2 separate regions of the Homo sapiens genome follow, and region 2 is linked to region 1. The links are contacts of gene promoters, found by promoter capture Hi-C in blood cells and fetal thymus (Javierre and others, 2016). All regions are on one chromosome and are shown on one strand. Each heading gives the region's core, a stretch centred on a gene start or on the middle of the fragment in contact. The rest is flanking DNA. Distances are from core to core; before and after follow the strand shown. Region 1 holds the start of PSAT1 (phosphoserine aminotransferase 1). Region 2 overlaps GNA14 (G protein subunit alpha 14).

Evidence for each region. The method cuts DNA at HindIII sites, captures the fragments that hold promoters and counts their contacts. A CHiCAGO score of 5 or more calls a contact.
Region 2: a contact is called between a fragment that was not itself captured here and the fragment with the promoter of PSAT1 in region 1, in 1 of 17 cell types (naive CD4 T cells). The highest score is 5.4, in naive CD4 T cells.

Annotation. Positions count from the first base shown.
Region 1 is chr9:78,295,761-78,298,460 of GRCh38, forward strand. It overlaps PSAT1 (phosphoserine aminotransferase 1), which reads left to right and starts at 1,365. Exons shown (of 9, transcript NM_058179.4): 1 at 1,365-1,510. The coding sequence starts at 1,451. RefSeq lists enhancers at 451-720, 611-1,194, 1,195-1,778 and a silencer at 1,731-1,970. The HindIII fragment of the contact is 4,911 bases long and covers 1-2,700 here.
Region 2 is chr9:77,451,126-77,453,943 of GRCh38, forward strand. The region is part of intron 2 of GNA14 (G protein subunit alpha 14); the gene reads right to left. The region is part of intron 1 of GNA14-AS1 (GNA14 antisense RNA 1); the gene reads left to right. Among named protein-coding and RNA genes, the nearest start is that of GNA14-AS1, 4.9 kb to the left of the region's middle. The HindIII fragment of the contact is 2,676 bases long and covers 196-2,818 here.

The DNA of each region.
Region 1 (2,700 bases), core at 115-2,614:
GAGATTTATTCTGTCTTGAATGTCGCGGTTTTCTTAATGAAGTTGCTGAGGAACGCAGGGGCCTTGTTCATTTTGCCTTTTTCTGGAAACTTTGTCCTCCAATTCCCAGATCCAGAGCAGTGCCTCTGCTCTCAGCCCCATACCGCCCACATTCTCATTAGGAAAAGCAAACAAAAGCCAAAGTCCTGTCCAGTTACAAGCCTTCTCTAAACGGGGCAGTTGGACTGTATATATTCCTGGCGCATCAATTTTACTCAGACAGGGAAAATATTTTTACATTAAAAGAAACTAGGTTAAATTATGGTAGAGAATGCAAAATTCACAGTTTAAAAATGATGAAATTCCAGACTTCAAAGGAACTTCTTTCTTGCAGGGTAGGGGGAGGGTATTCTGTTTCAGAACCCCATGCGGGTCTCCACTGGAGTTCTTTTGAGAAGGACACTTCTGTGGAAAAGTTTGAGCAGCTCTGGCCCTGCGCCTGGCCTGGCTAGGGGCCACCTTCTTCTGGTTTGGGCTGCAGCGCCCTATGGGTATCGCGTTCTTGTTAATATCTCCTCACGTTTCTAAACTCACAGCTTGTCAGCGCGGGCGCAACCTGAGAGCTGTCGCAGGTTTCCAGCTCACTCGTTTCCCAAAGGAGGAAATGGAGAATCAGCGACTTTAAAGGACTTGCCTGGCGGGCATCCACGCTTCCCAGGCTATCGCTCCTCCCTGCGTCCTTGGCCACCTCCGTTCTTTAATCCTGCAGGAACTCAGGACCCACGTGCAAATACAAAGAACCGTATCCACCCACCCCCGGCCCTTCTTCATCCTGCGCTTCCAACCTTGGGGGGGTCCTCTCTCTCCACTGGGGTATCTGACGCCCGTGGGGGGTGCTTAGAAAAGTTTGGTAGATTAGTGACTGGTGGTTCTGGAACAAATACATCACAGCCCAAACTGGGGGCTGGTGGTGGAGAGGTGGGTGGATGGGGGCTACAAATCTGCTCGGCAACTGCCCTTTCAGCCAAGAGAGAGGAGCTGAGGTCCTCTGGGGTTGGAGGACTGGAACCGGCCAGATTGCGGGCTCAAGGGGCGAAGGCAGGTTGGCAGGGGCAGCCTCTTCCCGCCGCCCACAATCCTCGGGCGGGCGCGCAGCCGAGCCGGCTCGGCTGGCTGGCGCAATCTCGCGCGCTCCTTGCATTGATCAAAAATGGGGGTTGAAACAGTAAACGCGAGGAGGAGCAACTGCTTCGACTCGGCTCAGAAGCGCGACCAATGGGGATGTGAGCTCCTTCGCGCGAACCAATTAGCGCAGGGCCTGCGACAGCACGGGCCAATGGGGCGCCGACTCGGCGCAGGAACAAGGCGGGGGTTCGGGGCCGGCTGCAGACTCTCACCGCAGCGGCCAGGAACGCCAGCCGTTCACGCGTTCGGTCCTCCTTGGCTGACTCACCGCCCTGGCCGCCGCACCATGGACGCCCCCAGGCAGGTGGTCAACTTTGGGCCTGGTCCCGCCAAGCTGCCGCACTCAGTAAGTCCCCGCGAGCGGGCGCCGGGAGTGAGGTTCAGGCGGGAGCACGCACGCGGGTGGGTTTGCATCCCTGCGTGTGGCAGTCGGATTCCCGCTCCCTGCCTTGAGTCCCCTAGGCGCTTTGCATCAGCGTGCACAGCGGGATCAGCAGCTCCGGCAAGCGGGCTTCGGGAAGAATGCAGTTGGTGAGGAAGCTCGGCGAGGCGTGCCCGTGCAGCTGCCCCTGGCCCTGACTGCTGGTGCGAGGCAGTGCACGACTCAGCTGGCCGGGGCCTGCTGTCCCGCCGGTGCCACGCACCTGCAGACGCCCGGGCTGTGCCATCTCCTGGGCCGGTCCGGGGGCTGGGGCGGGGCGAAAAAGAAAAAGCTCTGATCTCTGCCTTCGCCTCGCGCAGCTGTGCGGCGAGCCCGGGCAGTGTGGAGCGGATGCATGAATGGACATAGTGTGAATGAGTGATGAACGGGAATGAACCGATGACAGGTTTTGCATATGCAGTGGATCACGTTAGCTGAAAGGGATTGCAAACTTAAAGGTCCGCGTGTGCGTGCCCCCCTACGCCTTACACCAGTGTTTGCTTTAGCCAGCACTTAGGAACACTGCTTTTCAGAAATGTAAATTTGAAAACCTTCAGTCCAGCTTTCCCCTCCTTGTCCCCCATAGAACCTACCCTTTCCTAAAGCCTTTCTCCCCACCCCCCTCCTTTTTTTAACCTGCTTGTCCCCTAAAGGCGTTCGAGTATTCTAACTCTGGTAGACTTTGGGCTGCTTAACCCAATTCCCTGTTCATTTCGTTCTGGAGTAAACCGAGTGATTGAATTCTCTCCCGGGCCACAATCAGATCTTGCTGGTGGAACTCACTCTCTGCCTTCCCAGGCCCCAGCCCGGCTCCTCCCCTCCCCCGCCAAACCCACCGTCCCCAGCCCCACCCGCAGTGAAGAAGGCAAAGTCTCCGATGTGCCTTGAGCCCATTGTCAGGCGGCTGCCGCCGCCGTTAGATTTTTATTTTTCTAACCAGGATAGAGCTGATAATATGTTGGAGCAGCATGAGGCATAGCCAAGTATTTTACAATTATCAATTGTTGAGCAGAGTAGAAATCTCCCTGGGACAGAGCCTCCTCTGTGTTGTGGTAAGAACAGAGAATCCAATTTTAAAGGGGAAAGGACTTCTTACTTTTCTAGGGGCAGCGCTC
Region 2 (2,818 bases), core at 284-2,783, 840 kb before region 1:
CATACGTGTGTCAGACTAGCTTCCTTCAAGAGGACTCAAGATATAATCTCAGCTCATCCCCTAGTAGGGAGCTTTCGATGAATTTATCTGACCCTAAGCCCTCAGTTTCCTCATTGGTAAAATGAGGAGGGGAGGTGGGGGTGGTCTTTTCAACATTAGCAGTCTCTAGCTAAAGAACGTATTTTTTAATTATAAAGCTTCATAAATATTTGTTGTTGTGGACATTCTTTTTTCAAAGTATAAAGGCAAACACAGCCACTGTAGTCACTCTTTTTAGAGTGCTCTAAAGCAATCATTGTAACTATACTTAGCTGAGGATGTAAAGGAATGCCACTATTGATAAAGAGGTCTGTTCCTGGGATCCAGGGTGAGGCTATTCTAGGATGGCCCTGAAAATCTTGAGGATGACCAATGTGTAGGTCCGTCTCTCTTCTGTGAATCACACATCCTCAAAATAACCAGGAAGACAGCCTCAAAGGCAGTTATCCCCAAAAGATAATATTGCCCCAAACTTTTTTCTCCCTTGTCACACACATGTTCATTAGTCACCCTGGGACTCTGGACCACAGGTTTTTCCAGCTTGGGTGGACAAGCCAACGTGCAGCAAAGCTGCTCAGCCACTCTCCCAAGCAAGAACCCGAGATTCTTTGTTGTAATCAGGTGCATAAGGAAACCTGTTGGGGTCAGTGCAAAGTGTCTCTCTCCTCAAGCATCTCAAAGTTACACAGACATTTAACCAAGTCTCCTATTTCCTGTCAAAAAATCCCAACCGAGCAACCAGACGAGCACAGGTAGGTGGTGAGTGACAGATATTTGTGCAAAAATTAGATGTGGTCTCGTGAAGTCCCCACAGCCCAGGAACATTTCACTCAATCTAGTGATGTCCATGCTCACTATGTGCTGGTCTCACACCGCATCCCAGGGGAAGCGGATATAACTCCACAGAGGCTGACTTGAGAGACACGATCCAGTAAGAGGCTGGACTGCTTGATCCAGAACCCCGTAGAAATACACTGGTCCTGTCAGCAGGTCTGAGATAGACGTGTAGCCAAGTGACAAGCTCCAGTACAGCCTTAGGATTCACCAAAGTCACCCCTACTCATGTGACGTGTGAGGCAGACAGATTTGCCTTTAAGTAGCAACAAAGAATATCTGCACTCCAGATCTTGGTGGAGAATTTAGTCTCTCTGCCGCCTAACTCTTACCAAATTTTGAAACAAATGGTATCTATGGATGATTTTCCTGAAGTACATTCAGTCCAGCGATGCCTTTATAAGCATTTTCCAGAGTGGTACATTAAACAAAACACTACTCTACAAAACGTGGTACATATCCTTAAAAAAAAGTTCCTTGATCAAATTAGTTTAGGACAAAGTCTGAAAAAGTTACCCAAGTTTTCTAGTTAACTGCAGAACTGCACACAAGTGTGTGTGTGTGTGTGTGTGTATGTGCATGTGTATGTGTGTGTGTGGTGTGTATGTGTATGTGTGTGTATGTATATGTGTGCGGTGTGTGTGTTTGTGTTTGTGTGTGTGTCTGTGTGGTACATGTACCCCTTAGGGCAGGGATCTGCTGTGGTCTGAAAGTTTGTGTCTCTCCAAAATCCATACGTTGAACTCTCATCCCCAACGTGGAGGTATTAAGGAGTGGGGCTTCTGAGTGGGGACTAGGTCATGAAGGTGGAGTCCTCATGAATGACTTTGTGCCCTTTTAAAAGAGGTCTGAGCTGGGCACATTGGTTCATGCCTGTAAGCCCAAGGACACAGGAGGCTGAGGCAGGAGGACTGCTTGACGCCAGGAGTTCAAGACCAGCCTGGACAACATAGCGACATTCCCTCATCCCTAAAAACAAATAAACAAACAAGTAACCAGCCGGGTGGTGTGTGTACCTGCAGTCCCAGCTACTTGAGAGGCTGAGGCAGGAGGATGGCGTCAGCCCAAGAGTTCGAGGTTACAGTGAGCCATGATTGCACCACTGCACTCTAGCCTGGGTGACAGAGCAAGACCCTGTTCCTGAAAAAATAAAAAATAAAAATAAAAAGAGGCCTGAGGGAGCTTGTGTGTCCCTTCCGCCATGCGAAGACACCAAGAAGATGCCATCTCTGAGGAGCAGACTCTCACCAGACAGCACATCTGCTAGTGCCTTCATCTTAGACTTCTGCAGACTTCCCAATCCCCAGAACTGTGAGCAGTAAACGCTACTCTTTATAAATTACCCAGCCTAAGGTATTCTGTTATAGCAGCCTGAATAGACTAAGACAGATATTAGTCTCTTTTCTTCATTAATGTACTCCCACGTGCCTAGAATGGTGGTTCGCACATCAATATTCTTTGAATGAATAAATGAATCTTACCTGAAAATCTTTACATTCAATAAATACTGACAAAATACAATGAAGTCAAGGAGCAATATGCATTAACAAAATGCAACAGTTCATGAAAATGTGTAACTATGCGCACCAAACTCTTAACCATTCAGTCACTTAGAAAGATAATCCACATGTGTATGGCTTAAAAACAACAGCAAGAACAGCCCTGAAGCTACAACAGGATTCCTTCAACAAATGCAGCATTTAGTGAGAATTTATGGAACTGAGCAAACCTGAGCAATCATAAGCCTGCAGCCACCACAACAAATACAGCAACATGGAGTGGGGAGGCCCGAACACAGCACAGAGCTTTTGATATGCTAGTTTTATTATGAGTTTCCAAAGAGCAGCTTTACGATACACTACTTGCCAAATACATATAGTTCAATGGCAACTGGGGATCCATTTTCTCACAGGATAAAACTGCTCAGACTCCAGCCGATTCCATA